7 separate regions of the Homo sapiens genome follow, and all the other regions are linked to region 7. Evidence: promoter capture Hi-C in 16 types of primary human blood cells and fetal thymus (Javierre and others, 2016). All regions are on one chromosome and are shown on one strand. The core of a region is centred on a gene start or on the middle of the fragment in contact, and the rest is flanking DNA. Distances in the headings are between cores, read along the strand shown. Region 1 has its middle 9.2 kb from the start of KLF14. Region 2 overlaps LOC105375508 (a long non-coding RNA gene). Region 3 overlaps COPG2 (coat protein complex I subunit gamma 2). Region 4 has its middle 10 kb from the start of TSGA13. Region 5 overlaps LOC105375508 (a long non-coding RNA gene). Region 6 overlaps TSGA13 (testis specific 13). Region 7 holds the start of CPA4 (carboxypeptidase A4).

Region 1 (2,700 bases), core at 76-2,575, 430 kb after region 7:
CAGGAGTGGGAGCTTCCTAATAAGACACAAGCAGCAATAGATAATAAAAAATGCTACATTTTTTTCTTTCAAGTTGAATCGTAAATGTTTGTATGTTTTGACCATTTTGCTTTTCTTGCCCTTTACTAAACTAGAATATTTTGACAGGTGAACTAGGATTCTGGGTCAAGCTCTGGATTATCAAGAGCTATTGCGGAAAAATAAGAGACAAAGAGTATTCCGGAGTGGAGTGTGTGAGATTTTCCTTTGAGAATTCAGATTGGGCTCATTTCCTGTGTGGTTTGTGTTGACACTCCCCTAACTCTATCCCTCCAATGAGCTTAAGAAAATGGGAGTGAGTCTCTGAATTCCTAGTGAGGGATGAGGGGCAAAAGAAACTCCCTGTCCAGGTCCTAGAATAGGCATGAGAGGGCCTGAGCTGACACTCCTATACACGGGCACAAAGGTTCTTATCGATTTGGATTCTTGGTGTACTATGATTTTTCTCAATATAAAATTATCTACCTTTGCTGCACTCAAGTTTTGGGCTTGGAATTGTATTTTGACTCTGATATTAATTTTGTCACACCTTCTTGCTTTTATTAACACTTAACATTTGTTTGGTATATCATTTCCAAACCTAGGATTTTCTTTTTTCTTTCTTTCTTTTTTTTTTTTGACAGGATCTCACTCTGCTGCCCAGGGTGGAATACAGTGATGTAATCACATCTCACTGCAGCCTCAACCTCCTGGGCTCAAGCAATCCTCTCACCTCAGCCTCCTGCATAGCTGGGACTATAGGCATGCACCACCATGTCCAGCTAATTTTTTTTTTTTTTTTTTGTAGAGACAAGGGCTTGCTATGTTACCCAGGCTGGTCTTGAGCTTTTGTCTCAAGCGATTCTCTCACCTTGGCCTCCCAAATTGCTGGGACTGTAAGTGTGAGTCATTGCACCTGGCCTGCTTTTGCTTTTTTAACCAACATTATTTTGTTTCTGGCCTTTAAAATACTTTAAAAGGTCAATCTTGTTAACTTATACAAGCAATACATGAAGGTATTCTGCTTTTTAAAAAAAGTCAAAGTAGGCTGGGCGCAGAGGCTAATGCCTGTAATTCACCACTTCCGAAGGCTGAGGCAGGAGAATCGCTTGAAGCCAAGAGTTCGAGACCAGCCTAGGCAACAAAGCAAGACCCCGCCCTCATTTCTACCAAAAAAAGTAATAAAAGAAAGAATAAAAGCATTATATATAAGGCTAGAGAGCCCCTAACCAACACTTTCAATCCTTGTCTTCTCTTTAATTGCCTATTACTATACTTTGACAACTTTTTTGGTTCTTGTCTCTTGAATTTTTGATCCTTTATATATTCCAGACATTGATCTTATGCCTGATATTTTTCTCAGAATGTAGCTTGATATTTAATTGTGTTTAGGCTTTTAAAAGTAAAACATTTAAAAGTTTTGATGCAGTCAAATCTTTTTCCTTCAATTTTTATTTTTAAATTTTTTGTGTCCTAAACAAGATGATCTTCCTTATTTAATGATGATAGAGGGATTTTCCAGCATTTTTTACCAATTTTTTTATAGCTTAAACATGTTTAGGTCTTTACCATCTGTAATTTATTATTATGAAAGGTTTGAGAAAGTAATGCTGTGTATTGTTTTGTTTTCTTCATGAAGAGGCAATTGTCTCAATAGCATGTATCAAGTAGCCTATCTTTTCCCTGATTACATGAATGCCAACTCTCTTGTCCACTGGACTGTATTTACAGGTTTATTTCTGAACTCTTTATCCAATTCCACTTATCTCCTGTCTATTCCTACATTATACCACACTGCCTTAATTACTGTAACTTTGTCATATTTTGATATCTGGTAAAGCAATTTTCCCTTCCTTTCCCTTATGTTCTTCTGTAATATTTCCTTTAAAAAGCTCGATGAAAAATCATTGTGGGGTTTTGAATGGAACTGCATTACCTATACAGATTAATTTGAGGACAGAACTGACATTTTTATAGTATTGAATTTTACCATCCACAGACATTATTTTTATCCACTTAGTCCTCTTTTCTTTTCTTTCCTTTTCTTTTTTTCTTTCTTTCTCTTTCTCTCTCTCTCCCCCCCTCCCTCCCTTCCTCCCTCTTTCTCTCTCTCTCTCTTTTTTTGACGGAGTTTCGCTCTTGTTGCCCAGGCTGGAGTGCAATGGCGTGATCTCAGCTCACCACAACCTTCGCCTCCTGGGTTCAAGCGATTCTCCTGCCTCAGCCTCCTGAGTAGCTGGGATTACAGGCGTGCACCACCACACCTGGCTAATTTTGTATTTTCAGTAGAGATGGGGTTTCTCCAATTTGGTCAGGCTGGTCTCAAAAGTCCTATTTTCTTTTATGTCATTCAGTAAAAGTTTTATAGTCTTCTTCATAGATGTTCTTTATATTATTTGTTGCTACCAAATATGGAATCACTTAGTCTATTACATTTTCTGATTGATGATTACTGGCACATAAAAAAGTAATTGATTTTCTTCTTTATTAAATTAATGTAGTGAATTATGTTTATAGATATTGTTGAATTAATCTTGCATTCCTCAGATAAACTTCACACGATTATCTTGCATTATTCTTGTCATGCATTGCTGAATTTTACTTAGGATTTGTGGACCTGTCTTTATAGATAAAATTGGCGTATTTTTTTTTCTTGTCTTTTAACTTGCCTTGTTTTGGTAT
Region 2 (2,700 bases), core at 77-2,576, 450 kb after region 7:
TTTAAAATTGAACAACAAAAGCAGATGTATTATGAAAATGTTAACAAAGCAAACCAAATTAACATTTCAAGTAGAAAAAAAATAAGGATAAAGAAGATTCTAATAACATTATGAGAAACTTTATATACTCAGTTTAAATGTACGTGGAATATTTACAAAGAAAATTTCAATAGATTCTATAAAGTAGAAATTATACAACCTACACAGTGACCACATGCATAAAATTATTATTTAACAACAAGAAGACAGTAAAAAACAACAAACAGAAAAAGCACTATCCTCTTGAAAATGAGAAGGCACACTTCTAATTAACTTGGATTACAAAAGAATTAAAATTGAAATTACAAACTACTTAGAAATGAACAAATGAGCACACTACATTCCAAGATTTGTGCGTACTGCCAAAGTGGTACAAATGGAAAGATTTGCAGCCTTGAGTGCTTGTAGAAAACAGAAATTGTGAAAATAAACAAGCTAAGCTTATGACTCAAGAGTTAAAGAACAGGAAAAATAAGCCCAAAGAAATAAAAGTAGAAATAAATTGGCCGGGCATGGTGGCTCATGCCTGTAATCCCAGCACTTTGGGAGGCTGAGGGAGGAGGATCACCTGAGGTCAGGAGTTTGAGACCAGCTTGGCCAACATGGTGAAACCCTGTCTCTACTAAAAATACAAAAATTAGCGAGGTGTGGTGGCAGGCGCCTGTAATCCCTGCTAGGGAGGCTGAGGCAGGAGAATCGCTTAAACCTGGGAGGCAGAGATTGCAGTGAGCCAAGACCATGTCATTGCACTCCAGCCTGGGCAACAAGTGCGAAATTCCATCTCAAAAAAACAAAATAAGAATAGTAGAAATAAATGAAATTTTAAAAACCCCAAGTGGGCTTCATTAATAAAACCATTTTCTATTTATTTGGCAAGACCAATAAAATAGATGAATGCTTGGTGAATCAGATTAAGAAAAAAAAGAAGATATGCTTAATATAAGGATCAAGAAATGTGGAAAAAGCCAAATATTACTATGTACAACTTTAAATAAATATAATTAAAATCAAGATAAAATGTTTGATCCATAAATGCACAAATTACCAAAGTTGGTTCAGTAAGGAGCAAAGCTCCATGGACCATTACATAAAAATAAATGGAAAAATAATTAAAGGTATACTTAAAACAAAACAAAACACCAGATCCAAGTAGTTTCGCCAACTGGAGCTACCAAAGCTAAAAACAGGTATTTCCCATGTTATATAGTGGTCATAGTCCATAAAACAGATTGAACAATTTTTCAATTCGTAAGAGGTTTTTTTTTAATACCCTAGTTCTGAAATCAGATAAAGATAGGATCCAAAAAAAAGAGACTAATTCTCACAAACATAGTACAAAATTTCTAAATCTAGAAGTGTATTTTAAAAATAGTGCATCATGCCCAAGTTGAGTTTTTTCCAGGAGAAGAAGGGTATTTGGATGGTGAAAGTGTATTAATAGAATTCATTGTATTCTCTGAAGAGAAAATATATAATAGGCACCCCAAAAAGCAGTTGATAAGATCTAGCACACATTCCTCGTTTTAAAAAATGATCTTAGTAAAGAAGTCATAGAAGAAAGCATCTTATATTTGAAAAGGGGTTTCCAGTGGAAATCTACAACAAACATAATGCTTAACCATGAAATACTTGAAACATTCCCATTAAAATTAGGAACAATACAAGGGTAGCCTTTACTAGTACCACTTAGCATTAAAGTAGACATCCCATTCAGTACAACAATGGGGAAAAAGCCAAGAAAGAAGGTGAATACATATTGGAAAGTAATATACAAAACTGTAACTTTTTGCAGATGCACATTTCCATGTACCTAGAAAAATCCAAGGAAAATGTCAGAAAAACTTGAGAGCTAGTAAGATTTTGGTAGGGTGACTCTATAAAGATCTTGGTGAAGAAAAGTATACAGCTGAATTAAAGTTCTCATATAAAGATCTGAATACATGGAGAAACACACTGTTTCTTAACAGAAAAACTCAATGCTATAAAAGACAATTATTACAAAACATTTATAAATTTAAGACTGTTTCATTCAACATAGCAGCAGGTTTCTGTATAAAATTTGGCAAAATAATTCATCCGGATGAGAAAAAAATAGGAGGAGTAACATTTTTCTAGCAGGTATTAAAGCATATCATAAAGCTTTAGTAATTGATTCAGTGTGGTATTGTCATAGAAATAGACCAGTAAATTGATGGAAGAAAGAGGTGATTTAGAAACAGCCATTTATATGTGAGAGTTCAGTATATGATAAAGGTGACATTTCAAAAGAGTGGGGGAAATGATAGACAATTTATTAAAGAGTGTTCAACAGTTACTTAATCATTTTGGGGAAAATAAAAATCACTCCCACAGCCGGGCATGGTGGCTTACGCCTGTAATCCCAGGACTTTGAGAGGCCGAGGCGGGTGGATCACGAGGTCAGGAGATTGAAACCATCCTAGCTAACACAGTGAAACCCCGTCTCTACTAAAAATACAAAAAAATTAGCCGGGCGTGGTGGCGGGTGCCTGTAGTCCCAGCTACTCAGGAGGCTGAGGCAGGAGAATGGTGTGAACCCGGGAGGTGGAGCTTGCAGTGAGCCAAGATTGTGCCACTGCACTCCAGCCTGGGCGGCAGAGCAAGACTCCGTCTCAAAACAAAAATTAAAAAAAAAAAAAAAAA
Region 3 (2,708 bases), core at 19-2,518, 330 kb after region 7:
TTTGCCTTCATGGAACTTATCATTCTGGGAGGAAGAAAGATAATCACGTAAACAAAACAACCCCTTCCCCATAATTTTAGATACTGATAATTAGCATAAAAGATAAACTAAGGACAATGGTATAAAGCGTCCTAGTCTGACATACCCCCAAATCCTAAAATCCCATCAGACTAGACATAACTTTTAAAAATAAATTAACAAAAATAATTAACTCAAGAGGTATCTCTCTTTGGCATGGCTTTCTAAAATTATCAATGGCTTCAGACCTTTCTGCTGAGCTTCAAAAACAGGCAGAGGTGTGAACTAGCTACAAAATTCCATGTCCATGCTTTAAAGAGGTTTTTAACCTTTTACCCTCCCTTCTTTAGCTCCCCATGCATTTATACTACTGCTATCAATCTCTCCACTTCCTCAACTCCTCTCACATAATCCAAAATGGTCTACAACTCTGACTCCCTCCATTAGGAAACCAAGAGGAAGAAGTTTTGACTGATAGTCCTTCATTTCTTTTTCAATTAGGAAAGCAATTTGGCCAGGTGTGGTGGCTCATGTCTGTAATCCCAGCACTTTGGGAGGTCAAGGTGGGAGGATTACTTGAGCTCAGGAGTGCAAGACCAGCCTGGGAAACATGACTAAACCCCATCTCTACAGATAATACAAAAATTAGACTGGTGTTGTGGGGTGTGCCTGTAGTCTCAGCTACTTGGGAGGTTGAGGTGGGAGGACTGCTTGAACCCAGGAGGCAGAGGTTGCAGTGAGCTGAGATGGCACCACTGTACTCCAACCTGGGTGACAGAGTGAGACCCTGTCTCAAAAAAAAAAAAAAAAAAAGACTTTTTTTGGAAGTGTCCTGCACTTAAAAAATTTTGTAGCGTGGGCATTTTTCCCTGATGCACTCTTTCTGGCTCTGTCAGATGCAAGCTTGGTTTTCCGGATTTCCAAGAGGATCTATGAACTAGATTCTACTGCCAGCAATGGGGAGCCCTGAACAATACACTCGTTCAGTAATTTAAGTGCCAAGGACTATGAATTTTCCTCTGACCATAGCTTTAGTTGAACTCATAGGTTTTCATCATTAGATTTTAAAAATATTCTGTAATTTCAATTTTTACTTATATACTGTCCCAAAAGTTGAGGTTTTCTTTTTATTTTTCCATTTTGACATATCTGGGTACTATCTGTTCATTTTCTTCTCAAAATAAATGTATCATTTGATTGCATTGTAATGACAGAATAAGTCTCTACTATATTTCCACATTCTAGAATTAACAGGTTTTCAGGGGCTGAATGCTGAATAATTTGTAAGTGTTCCATGAATACTTATAAAGGTGACTTTTCTATTATAAAGGTAAGGTTTTCATAAGTATTAATCAATCTGTATCAAGTATATTATTCATATCTTTTTTACCCTTAGGTTTTTCCTTCTTTTTAAAACAAAGGCTGATACTATTTTGTTTCTATTTACATTTTTTGTGATTTTTGGCTTATGTACTTTGGTGTTACATTAATAAATAATTCATGACAGTTCCTCCTCATTTTGGATAAAGTACCTCATTCTTGTCTCCTTCAAAACTTTTTGCATTTAATTCAATTTTCTAATTATTAATACCTTCACCCAAGCTTCCTTTCAGTAGTGTTTGCCTTATATGCTTTCACCCCTCCTTTTATATTCAAATTTTGCTTTGCCTTGTTTTATATACATCACAATATGTAGCATATAGTTAGCTGTATTTTATTTTTAAACTAATCTGTATTTCTTTTAATAGGCAATGTCTGGTGTTAATTCTATGAATTTGTTTTGTGTTACATCTCTATTTTTAGTACTTTCTTTGTTTCCTATAAGGCAGTGTTATCCAACAGAACTTTTTTCAATGATGGAAAATGTTCCATCATTCAGCATAGTAGCCACAAGCTAAATGTGTCTAATGAGCACTTGAAATATAGCTAGTGTGACTAATGAACTGAATTTTCAATTTTACAAAAGTTCAATTAATGTTCACTATAATAGCCATATGTATCTAATGGCTATCTTATTGGACAATACAGATGTAAGAGTGTCTTTTGTTTTCCTAAGTGAATGTGTTTTCTCTCTGAAATATGGGAGATTTACATTCTAGTTCTTTTTGTCGCTGCCATAAAACTTTAGATAAAAGAGTTAAGCTATGAAAGCAAAAAAATTAATGCACGTAAGCTTTCTCCTCTCTCATCTGCCCTCCCGTGTATCTCCAAATTTTTGTTAGTATTATTCTTTTTGTATTATCATGGATTATAACATTTACATTCTATCTTTAATCATAATTTCTACAGTAGTTTAACCCTACTTCTATAATTGAATACATTCAATGCTCACTGGTAATTCATTTCCTGTAGCCCCTCTATTACAGAATTCACTCTTTTGATTTAATATAACTTCAATGCTTAATTTTATTTTTCAAGAAAAGCTCACAGGTGTTATGGTCCCTGAATTCTTTCCAGTGTGGAAGTCTGCTTGTTGTCCCTGTACTTGAATGACAATTCGCTTAGCTGTATTATTCTTGTATCACATGTTCTGTTTCTTAAAACTTTGCAGATACTGTCCCCATTCTTTTCTGACACTGAAAACTGCCATGAATGGCTGAAGTCGGACTTAGTTTTTCTCACTTTTAAATGACTAGCTTTTTCTGCCAGAAGTCTTAAAAATTACTTGTTTCTCTCCACAGTACAAGTTA
Region 4 (2,700 bases), core at 162-2,661, 400 kb after region 7:
TAGACAGTCAGCAAATATCTGCTGATTGAATGAGTGATTGAAAACTCAGCTGAAAGGTTCCATGTACACTATGTGAGATTTTTGGTTTTGATTTATCAGTTCTGGTCATTGTTGGTGGTACTTGATAGCCATCCCAAATTTTCTTACTTGTTATCCTGTTCTGAAAGAAGACATACTAGATCCAAGGAAAAATCAGATTGAATCAATATCATTTATATGGTGTATCCACAGCCTCTATGAGGCATTTCCCTACCTACTCACCCTCCGCTCTGTGCTTTCAACGTGGCCCTGACATGTCCATTATTGATGACCCAATCACACTTGTTACCACGATAGCAATGTAACAAAGGCTAGTTGAAGAGAAAGAGGATTCTTCTCGAAACAAAACAAAACAAAAAAAACAGTCCCATCCCAAAGATAGAAAAATCACTTCAGGGAGCCTGCATCTGCTGTGCCTTTGCTTATGGAGTCAGGCTTGCCCAGAAACAGTGGAAGGGCTTTGATCAGCAGTCAAGGCCAACCTATCTTTCAGATGAACAGAAAACGATGACTTGAGAAGGATAGCTTTAGAGATGACAGAAAGCAGACTGGGGATATATCATCAGATGAATGAAGAGAGAATGATAATTGGGGAAGACATGAGATCAGAAACGTTAAAACTAGTCATAGAAGAGAAAAAGATGGGTGTCCCTTTAATTTAAATCTGGACCTAACTGCCTCTACATTTGGGGATGAGGCTAGAAATGGGTTGCGGACATGTTTTTAATGATAGAGGACCTGGGAAAATGCCTGGGTCCCAAGAGATTTAATGGAAGAGGAATGAAATGATATTAGGGAGCAATTTGGAATTATACCCCAAGAGGGAGCCTAGATCCAGGAAATTATTGAAAGTCGCCCTCTGATGGTGACAGATAGAAAGTCCTTAACAAGAACAATTGGGGGACATTCCTTTGATGATAGGGACAACTCCCCAAGATGGTTACAGAAAACTTAGGTTTAAGAAAAGAAGGCCAGAAACATGACTGGGGAGTACTTTAGGTATTATTTTTTCTTTTTCTTTTTCTTTCTTTCTTTTTCTTTTTTTTTTTGAGATGGAGCCTCACTCTGTCACCCAGGCTGGAGTGCAGTGGTGCAATCTCGGCTCACCTCAACCTCCGTCTCTTGGGTTCAAGTGATTCTCCTGCCTCAGCCTCCTGAGTAGCTGGGACTACAGGTGCATGCCACCCGCCTGACTAATTTTTGTATTTTTAGTAGAGACGAGGTTTCACCATGTTGGCTAGGATGGCCTCGATATCCTGACCTCGTGATCCACCCACCTCGGCCTCCCAAAGTGCTGGGATTACAGGTGTGAGCCACTGAGCCCAGCCCTAGGTATTCTCTTGTGGGTTTCAAGGTGATGTGGTTTTTGTAGGCGGGAAAGCATGACTAGCACATGCCACGAGGGGCACATTCAGGTAATGTACAAGGCTAGGTCTCTAAGGAAATGCAATACACCAACATGGGCCAGACAGAAACACAACAGAATAGGTGTAGGGCATTATAGGCAAACTCTGACCCAGGTCTCCCATTTTCACCTGAAATTAACTTTATAAAAATTGCATTTTGGGCCGGGTGTGGTGGCTCACGCCTGTAATCCCAGCACTTTGGGAGGCCGAGGTGGGTGGATCACTTGAGATCAGGAGTTCGAGACTAGCCTGGTCAACATGGAGAAACCCTGTCTCTACTAAAAATACAAAAATTAGCTGGGTGTGGTGGTGTACACCTGTGATCTCAGCTACTCGGGAGGCTGACGCAGGAAAATTGCTTGAACCTGGGAGGCGGAGATTGCAGTGAGCCGAGATGGCACCATTGCACACCAGCCTGGGCAACAAGAGCGAGACTCCATCTCAAAAAAAAAAAAAATTGCATTTTGAAATTGTAAAGGCAGTTCCTAAAAGAATGTGCAAATATATCCCACAGAAAGTCTTGCTTTCTTGCTTGTTAGTATTGTGAATGTTTTCTTGCCTTTTTTTTTTTTTTTTTTTTGACAGAGTCTTGCACCGTTTCCCAGGCTGGAGTGCAGCGGCACGATCTCACTGCAATCTCCGCCTCCCAGGTTCAAGCGATTGTCTTGACTCAGTCTCCTGAGTAGCTGGGATTACAGGCGCCCGCCACCAGGCCCAGCTAGTTTTTTTGTATTTTTGTAGAGTCGGAGTTTCACTACATTGGCCAGGCTGGTCTCAAACTCCTGATCTCATGATCCACTGCCTGGGCCTCCCAAAGTGCTGGGATTACAGGCATGAGCCACCGCGCCCAGCCTTTCTTGCTTTTAGATACTAATTTTATAGGCTGGGCATGGTGGCTTATGCCTGTATTCCCAGCACTTTAGGAGGCCAAGGTGGGTGGACTACTTAAGGCCAGGAGTTCAAGACCAGCCTGGCCAACATGGTGAAACCCTGTCTCTACTAAAAAAATAAAAACAAAAATAAAAAAATTGGCCAGGCATGGTGGTGCGCGCCTGTAGTCCCAGCTACTTGGGAGGGTGAGGCAGGAGAATTGGTCGAACCTGGGAAGTGGAGGTTGCAGTGAGCCAAGATCACGCCACTACACTCCATCCTGGGTGACATAGTGAGACTCCATCTCAAAAAACAATATGAATTTTATAGACATATATTTCTCAATACAATATTTTTCATCCACTATTTGTCTAAGAAGAGTTTA
Region 5 (2,700 bases), core at 62-2,561, 470 kb after region 7:
AAACATGTGTGCCTGTGTCTTTATCGTAGAATGATTTATAATCCTTTGGGTATATGCCCAGTAATGGGATTGCTGGGTCAAATGGTATTTCTAGTTCTAGATCCTTGAGGACTCGCCACACTGTTTTCCACAATGGTTGAACTAATTTACACTCCCACCGACAGTGTAAAAGCGTTCCTATTTCTCCACATCCTCTCCAGCACCTGTTGTTTCCTGACTTTTTAATGATTGCCATTCTAACTGGTGTGAAATGGTTTCTCACTGTGGTTTTGATTTGCATTTCTCTAATGGCCAGTGATGATGAGCATTTTTTCATATGTCTGTTGGCTGCATAAATGTCTTCTTTTCATAAGTATCTGTTCATATCCTTTGCCCATTTTTTGATGGGGTTGTTTTTTCCTGGTAAATTTGGTTAAGTTCTTTGTAGATTCTGGATATTAGCCCTTTGTCAGATGGATAGATTGCACAAATTTTCTCCCATCCTGTAGGTTGTCTGTTCACTCTGATGATAGGTTCCTTTGCTATGCAGAAGCTCTTTAGTTTAATTAGATCCTGTTTGTCAATTTTGTCTTTTGTTGCCATTGCTTTTGGTGTTTTGGACGTTAAGTCTTTGCCCATGCCTATGTCCTGATGGTATTGCCCAGGTTTTCTTCTAAGATTGTTATGGTCCTGGGTCTTATGTCTAAGTCTTTGATCCATCTTGAGTTGATTTTTGTAGAAGGGGTAAGGGCATTTCCGTTTTCTGCATATGGCTAGCCAGTTTTCCCAACACCATTTGTTAAATAGGAAATCTTTTTCCCCATTGCTTGTGTGTGTCAGGTTTGTCAAAGATCAGATGGTTGTAGCTGTGTGGCATTGTTTCTGAGGCCTCCGTTCTGTTCTGTTGGTCTATATATCTGTTTTAGTACCAGTACCATGCTGTTTTGGTTACTATGGCCTTGTAGTATAGTTTGAAGTCAGGTAGTGTGATGCCTTGAGCTTTGTTCTTCTTCCCCAATATTGTCTTGGCTATGTGGGCTCCTGTTTGGTTCCATATGAAGTTTAAAGTAGTTTTTTTTTCAATTCTGTGAAGAAATTCAGTGGTAGCTTGATGGGGATAGCATTGAATCTATAAATTACTTTGGGCAGTATGGCCATTTTCACAATACTGATTCTGCCTCTCCATGAGCGTGGAATGTTTATCTATTTGTTTGTGTCCTCTTTTATTTCCTTGAGCAGTGGTTTGTAGTTATCCTTGAAGAGTTCCTTCACACCCGTTGTAAGTTGGATTCCAAGGTATTTTATTCTCTTAGTAGCAATTGTGGATGCGAGTTCACTCATGATTTGGCTCTCTGTTATTGGTGTATAGGAATGTTTGTGATTTTTGCACAGTGGTTTTGTATCCTGAGACTTTGCTGAAGTTGCTTATCATCTTAAGGAGATTTTGGCTGAGACGATGGGGTTTTCTAAGTATACAATCATGTCATCTGCAAACAGACAATTTGATTTCCTATTTTCCTAATTGAATACCCTTTATTTCTTTCTCTTGCCTGATTGTCCTGGCCAGAACTTCCAACACCATGTTGAATAGGAGTGGTGAGAGAGGCATCCTTGTCTTGTGCCAGTTTTCAAAGGGAGTGCTTCCAGGTTTTGCCCATTCAGTATGATTTGGCTGTGGGTTTGTCATAAATAACTCCTATTATTTTGAGATATGTTCCATCAATACCTAGTCTGAGAATTTTTAGCATGAAGGGCTGCTGAATTTTGGCAAAGGCCTTTTCTGCGTCTATTGAGATAATCGTGTTTTTTGTCATTGGTTCTGTTTATGTGATGGATTACATTTATTGATTTGCATATGTTGAACCAGCCTTGCATCCCAGGGATGAAGCCAAGTTGATCGTGGTGGATAAGCATTTTGATGTGCTGCTGGATTCAGTTTACCAGTATTTTATTGAGGATTTTTGCGTTGATATTCATAAGGGATATTGGCCTAAAGTTCTCTTTTTTTGTTGTGTCTCTGCCGTGCTTTGGTATCAGGATGATCCTGGCCTCATGAAATGAGTTAGGGAGATTCCCTCTTTTTCTATTGACTGGAATCGTTTCAGAAGGAATGGAAGCATCTCCTCTTTGTACCTCTGGTAGAATTCAGCTGTGAATCTGTCTGGTCCTGGACTTTTTTTGGTTGGTAGGTTAGTAATTATTGCCTCAATTTCAGAACCTGTTATTGGTCTGTTCAGAGATTCAGCTTCTTCCTGGTTTAGTCTTGGGAGGGTGTATGTGTCCTGTTATTTATCCGTTTCTTCTATATTTTCTAGTTTATTTGCATAGAGGTGAGCTTTATTTATTTAGGTGCTCCAATGTTGGGTGCATATATATTTACAATCATTATATCTTCTTGATTAATTGGCCTTGTAATCATTATATAATGACCTTCTTTGTTTCACTTTATAGTGTCAACTTAAAGTCTGTTTTATCTGATACGAGGTTAGTTACCTCTGTTCTCTTTTGGTTTCCATTTTCATGGATTATCTTTCTCAATATTTTCACTTTCAATCAATGTATGTCCTTAAAAGTGAAGTGAGGCCAGGCATACTGGCTCATGCTTGTAATCGCAGCACTTTGGGAGGCTGAGGTGAGCAGATAACTTGAGGTCAGGAGTTCCAGACCAGCCTGGGCAACATAGTGAAACCCTGTCTCTACTAACAAAAAACCAAAAAAAAA
Region 6 (2,700 bases), core at 60-2,559, 380 kb after region 7:
TACTCGACTTCATGGCCTCTTCACTACCTTTCTTCCTCATGGTTTGAGTCTTTTTTTGGGGGGGGTGGGGTGGGGAGGGGATGGAATCTCACTCTGTTGCCTGGGCTGGACTGCAGTGGCACAGTCTCCACTCACTGCAACCTCCACCTCCCAAGTTCAAGCAATTCTCCTGTGTTAGCCTCCGGAGTAGCTAGGACTACAGGCATGTGCCACCACGCCTGGCTAATTTTTTGTATTTTTAGTAGAGACAGGGTTTCACCACGTTAGCCAGGATGGTCTCAATCTCCTGACCTCGTGATCTGCCTGCCTCGGCCTCCCAAAGTGCTGGGCTTACAGGCGTGAGCCACTGCGCCAGGCCGGTTTGAGTCTTCTAGCCTTACTCTTATGTGTCCTTTTAGCTTTCATTCCTACTGCTTCAATCTTTTCATTTCTCAATTCAGAGACCTGGAAACAAGAATCTGATTAGCTCAGGGATTCTGGATGTTGGTAGGTTGGTTGGTTTTTGTTTTGATTTGTTTTTTGTTTGTTTTGGTTTTAGGGTACCAATCCACATCACAGGTCACTACCCAGCCTATGAATTTTGCTTTGTTGGGTCTGATATCCTCCTCTGGTCTCAACTAGGAGTGGGGACACGGTCCTGTTGTACAAAATAGAACTTCTCAGGATATTCCCTTACTCAGGAGACTGTGGTAGGGTCAGTTTCACTTAGAAGGGGCTGTTAGTATGACAATCACTGTAATAGATATATCTAGTACATTCCATAACTTGCCTACTAGAACTCACAGTCTTTTTGGATGCATGCCTGGGCATAACAAAGAATGCTTTTCTTGTAAATGATTCTAGGTTTACAAAAGATTATCACATTTGTCCAGCAAGGGAAGGAAAGGATGCTGCATGAATATTAAAGAGGCATTGTAGATATCACACGTTTCAATCTTCTTGGGCTTGTTCCAGTCTGATAGCCCCATAAAATTACCATGGTGCCAGTCTTTGAGCCTTAACTTTATCCATTAGTACAATTTAACTGGTACCACAATTTGCTCATCAATATGATTAGATTCTGCACCTGAACTGGAGGGTTCACAAAGTGTGCAGGCTGTTGGAAGAAAGCTCTTCCCACACCCAGTTTACATGATAGCTTTGTATTTCCTTCTGCGCATTAAGCAGGGCAATCCTGGCCTGGCATTTATCCCTTTCTCAATGTATGGTCCACCCACTGCCATGAGAAACTACCAGTGAGCTTACCTTCAAAGGGCACAAATTCTGAGACCCAAGAGACCACATGCGGTAAATTCATTAACTCCTTTGTTAGTACATGCCATTGGATATTAGCATTTTATCTTCCACTTGAAGGAGAATCTCTCACTGTCATCCATCTAGGAACTATGGAAACACTAACTCCAAATTCACCACATTTTATTATAAGGGTCTCACTTGGGTAATCCCATGCCCAGCATAAAATTTCTACTAGAATCCTTTGTTTGCACTTTCACTTAACTCATTTATTTAATTTGTTCTTGTTAGATTAGACCCGCTCTTGAGGCTATCATGACCTTTTTTAGATTTTGATTCTTTTTTTTTTTTTTGAGACTGAGTCTCCCTCTGTCGCCCAGGCTGGAGTGCAGTGGTGCGATCTCGGCTCACTGCGAGCTCCGCCTCCCACGTTCACTCCATTTTCCTGCCTCAGCCTCCGGAGTAGCTGGGAGTACAGGCGCCCGCTACCACGCCCGGCTAATTTTTTGTATTTTTAGTAGAGACGGGGTTTCACTGGGTTAGCCAGGATGGTCTCAATCTCCTGACCTCGTGATCCACCTGCCTTGGCCTCCCAAAGTGCTGGGATTACAGGCGTGAGCCACTGCTCCCGGCCAGATTTTGATTCTTAAATATCTCATAATTAAATTTTCTCTACTTCCTCTGCTAATGATTTAGTTCAGGTCTTCAGTATCTCTCACCTTGACTATTTTAGTAACATTATAACTCATCTTTCTGGGTTTTGTCTCTTCCACAACTACTAATGCACCTTTCTTCAACCTCCAAAACAGTCTTCCTAAAATGCAAATTTGATTACATCCTTTTGTCTCCTGCCATTTACTCTATTTGCTTTTTCTTTTTTTTTTTGAGATAGAGTCTCGCCCTGTCGCCCATGCTGGAATGCAGTAGCGCTATCTTGGCTCACTGCAACCTCCACCTCCCAGGTTCAAGCGATTCTCCTCCCTCAGCCTCCTGAGTAGCTGGGACTACAGGCATGCAGCACCACGCATGGCTAATTTTTGTATTTTTAGGAGAGATGGGGTTTCACCATGTTGGCCAAGCTGGTGTCAAACTCCTTATCTCAAGTGATCTGCCCGCCTCAGCCTCCCAAAGTGCTGGGATTACAGGCGTGAGCCACTGCGCCTGGCCCTGCCATTTACTCTCTTACATCTTCCTGAATGCACCTCATTTTCCCATGTCTTCATGCTTTTGCTCTTTCCTCTGATTTGATATTTTCCTGTTCTTTTGTCATGGGTCACTTCCCTACTCACTCCCTTTTTCCCAACAGAAATACTGTATTCTACATTACTTCTGTATTTTGTATATTCTTCTATTACTTTAACATACCTCATTTATTGATCTTTCTCCTATTAGATTCCAAGTTCCTTTAAGACAGAAACTGTCCTGTAATCATCTTTATATTCTGGTTTTTAGCTTACTGTATCCTCA
Region 7 (2,700 bases), core at 201-2,700:
CCAGCCTGAGCAAAGATCCTGCGAAGTCATCCCTCCCACCTTGATATCTGATCAAGTTCCTCATCCCCACCTTTGATGGGGACTTTGATGTATAAGTCCTTGGCCTGCTTTTAGCAAGAATCCCCCTACCTTGATGTCTTCTCTTAGTAATCCCACTGATCCTCTCTGTTTTCTTTGCCGTATTCAGTGTTAAGCACAGTAAGTCTTTCCTACTGAAATAGCCATGGTCCTAATCATAATAATCTTGAATTAGGTCTTACATTTTAACACAGGTCAGGATAGTTTTTCTTTAACTCTCTCAACTATGACCCTTGGTTGTGTCCACTCCCTTTGAGTGGGTGTGGAAAGCATGTAGACCGTAGGGAGGGTGGGATGGGAAAGGCTGTGGGAACTGGGGCTCCCAGGACAGACTCAAAGGTCCCAGAGCCCCTGAAGGCGTTATGGAGATATGAGTGTCTTCCATTTATTCAGCTGTGACTTGGCGGAAAGGACACCAGACCCACAGTCTAGGAAGTATAAGAAAATCTTATTATTTATTTATTTATTTATTTGAGATGGAGTCTCACTCTGTCGCCCAGGCTGGAGTGCAGTGGTGCGATCTCGGCTCACTGCAAGCTCCGCCTCCCAGGTTCACGCCATTCTCCTGAGTAGCTGGGACTACAGGCGTCCGCCACCACGCCCGGCTAATTTTTTGTATTTTTAGTAGAGACGAGGTTTCACTGTGATAGCCAGGATGGTCTCAATCTCCTGACCTCGTGATCCGCCCACCTCGGCCTCCCAAAGTGCTAGGATTACAGGCATGAGCCACCTCGCCCGGCTGAAAATCTTATTATTGATAAAACCATTAAGCCTTCCCCATAGATCAGACCCCAAGGAACACTGATAATTTATTCAGACTAAAACATCCTTTCTATATCATTTGCCTGATACATTTCTATTTCCTTAGTGGAGTCAGAAGAATTAGGCTTCAGATACATAAAAGAGGCCCCAAACCTCTTTCCTCATCCTGACCTGCCCTGGTGAAATTCTCTGGCAGGGCTTGTCAAGCATGTGGTCTTGGAGCCAGCTCAGTCTTGCTTTGATAGTCTTAACTTTTTTATTATTATTCTAGAGGTAATTCTATGCCAGGTTTATAATCTGACCTCTCCTATCAGGATAAATTCCATCCAACACTGTGGAATTAGCTTATTCACTGAAAAAACACTATTTAAATGCCAAGTGATGAGCAATATGGTACCCTTGGCACAGACTTTTTCAGCTCCTGGAGCAAGTTCCTGACCTTGTAAATTGAGATGCTCAACCTTTATCACTTGAAAGGAATGGGAGAGGCATTGGTAGGGCCTGCCTGTCACAGTCAGAGTTGCAAGGGTGCTTGGGAATCACATTAGCATTTTTGAGGACTTGAGTCACTCTCAGACTCTTTATAAATACAGCTTGACTCAGCCACTGTATGACTGACTCCCCGGGGACATGAGGTGGATACTGTTCATTGGGGCCCTTATTGGGTCCAGCATCTGTGGCCAAGAAAAATTTTTTGGGTAAGTTCCTTTTGGACTTATTATTTGGTTATTTCAGAAATATGGGAGCCAAATGGAACTGAAAATGAATGGCTGATAATAGCTCACATGGAGGAAGAAGACCTGGGCTCTTGTTCCAGCTTTGCCCCTGTGTCATCCTGGACAAGTCCACTCTCTTCTCTGAGACCCCATTTCATCTGTGAAATCAGGACTAGATGATCATTGCAGTCTCTCCCCAGCTCCCTCATCTCCTGCCAGTTCTTTTTCTGCCTAGTTCTTACTTATAAGGTCAGTTCCAGGCATCTACTTTCTTACTCCTACCTTATTAATTACTAAGAGTTACTGGTTACTAAGAGCTACGTTATTAATTACTAAGAGTTACTGGTTACCAGAAATGGTTTGTTTCCAATTTCCGCCATGCATAAAGGGAAACCCTGGGTCTCAAGCTTGTTGGTTTCACTTCTTTGTTAATGGCGAAGGCTTTGCAGAGCTGGTGCCTTCTCTTGATCTGCAGTTTAATGCTCTACCCCTGAGCTACACCCTCTTCTGAGCTGGTGCTTTCTTACTGGCTTCTGGGACGTGGAGATTTCACAGGTCTTGCCTAGACACAGCTATGAAAATGACATGCAGAGACACATGCCTGAACACCGTGTGTGTGTGCGCGTGTGTGTGTGCACACACACACGTGCTCAACACGCTCCATGCAGAATACTTTGAGGTTTGCAGGGGAGAGGACATTTGGGTGGTAGGAGAGATAAAAGGGATACCATGGTGCCCTGTTAGAAGACTGAATTATAATAACTCATTACTGCATAATACTTTACCATTTGCAAAGAGCTTTCATGTACATTATCTTTTTGATCACACAACAACTTTGCCAGGCAGGGGTGTTATTTTCTTCCACTTAAACATGAAAAAAATCAGCCTTAGAATGTTAAGGAACGCGCTCAAGGCCACTTAGCTGGGAAGCAGGGGAGCTGGAACTCTGAACGTAAAACTCGTACCCTTTTGCTATAACACAAGTTCATCTCCAAATAAAATCCTATATCTCTTGGATCTGTCTCTTAGTTTTCTTTCTATTTTACTATCTGGCTAATGAGACTTTGGGGTTGTTTTTTGAGGTAATTACTTATATGAGATTGACTAAGTTTTATGATGATGACTTCTGTTCACACCTGTGTCT

Evidence for each region. Contacts are between HindIII fragments. The CHiCAGO score rates a contact against its expected background, and 5 or more counts as called.
Region 1: a fragment that was not itself captured here is called in contact with the fragment with the promoter of CPA4 in region 7 in 3 of 17 cell types (endothelial precursors, M1 macrophages and M2 macrophages); the score reaches 6.2 in endothelial precursors.
Region 2: a contact is called between a fragment that was not itself captured here and the fragment with the promoter of CPA4 in region 7, in 2 of 17 cell types (endothelial precursors and M1 macrophages). The highest score is 6.4, in endothelial precursors.
Region 3: a fragment that was not itself captured here is called in contact with the fragment with the promoter of CPA4 in region 7 in 6 of 17 cell types (M2 macrophages, megakaryocytes, erythroblasts and 3 more); the score reaches 7.1 in M2 macrophages.
Region 4: a contact is called between a fragment that was not itself captured here and the fragment with the promoter of CPA4 in region 7, in 4 of 17 cell types (M2 macrophages, endothelial precursors, M0 macrophages and 1 more). The highest score is 6.8, in M2 macrophages.
Region 5: a fragment that was not itself captured here is called in contact with the fragment with the promoter of CPA4 in region 7 in 3 of 17 cell types (M1 macrophages, erythroblasts and M0 macrophages); the score reaches 7.3 in M1 macrophages.
Region 6: a fragment that was not itself captured here is called in contact with the fragment with the promoter of CPA4 in region 7 in 5 of 17 cell types (M1 macrophages, M2 macrophages, endothelial precursors and 2 more); the score reaches 8.9 in M1 macrophages.

Annotation. Positions count from the first base shown.
Region 1 is chr7:130,723,664-130,726,363 of GRCh38, forward strand. No RefSeq gene overlaps it. Among named protein-coding and RNA genes, the nearest start is that of KLF14, 9.2 kb to the right of the region's middle. The HindIII fragment of the contact is 4,675 bases long and covers 1-2,700 here.
Region 2 is chr7:130,745,474-130,748,173 of GRCh38, forward strand. The region is part of intron 3 of LOC105375508 (a long non-coding RNA gene); the gene reads left to right. Among named protein-coding and RNA genes, the nearest start is that of KLF14, 13 kb to the left of the region's middle. The HindIII fragment of the contact is 1,699 bases long and covers 478-2,176 here.
Region 3 is chr7:130,617,289-130,619,996 of GRCh38, forward strand. All of the region lies in intron 5 of COPG2 (coat protein complex I subunit gamma 2), which reads right to left. Among named protein-coding and RNA genes, the nearest start is that of COPG2, 50 kb to the right of the region's middle. The HindIII fragment of the contact is 699 bases long and covers 920-1,618 here.
Region 4 is chr7:130,695,151-130,697,850 of GRCh38, forward strand. No RefSeq gene overlaps it. Among named protein-coding and RNA genes, the nearest start is that of TSGA13, 10 kb to the left of the region's middle. The HindIII fragment of the contact is 5,965 bases long and covers 1-2,700 here.
Region 5 is chr7:130,764,911-130,767,610 of GRCh38, forward strand. All of the region lies in intron 3 of LOC105375508 (a long non-coding RNA gene), which reads left to right. Among named protein-coding and RNA genes, the nearest start is that of KLF14, 32 kb to the left of the region's middle. The HindIII fragment of the contact is 4,409 bases long and covers 1-2,700 here.
Region 6 is chr7:130,675,325-130,678,024 of GRCh38, forward strand. The region is part of intron 5 of TSGA13 (testis specific 13); the gene reads right to left. Among named protein-coding and RNA genes, the nearest start is that of COPG2, 7.9 kb to the left of the region's middle. RefSeq lists an enhancer at 990-1,546. The HindIII fragment of the contact is 4,053 bases long and covers 1-2,700 here.
Region 7 is chr7:130,291,711-130,294,410 of GRCh38, forward strand. CPA4 (carboxypeptidase A4) reads left to right here and starts at 1,451. Exons shown (of 11, transcript NM_016352.4): 1 at 1,451-1,538. The coding sequence starts at 1,471. RefSeq lists an enhancer at 1,856-1,945. The HindIII fragment of the contact is 9,413 bases long and covers 1-1,961 here.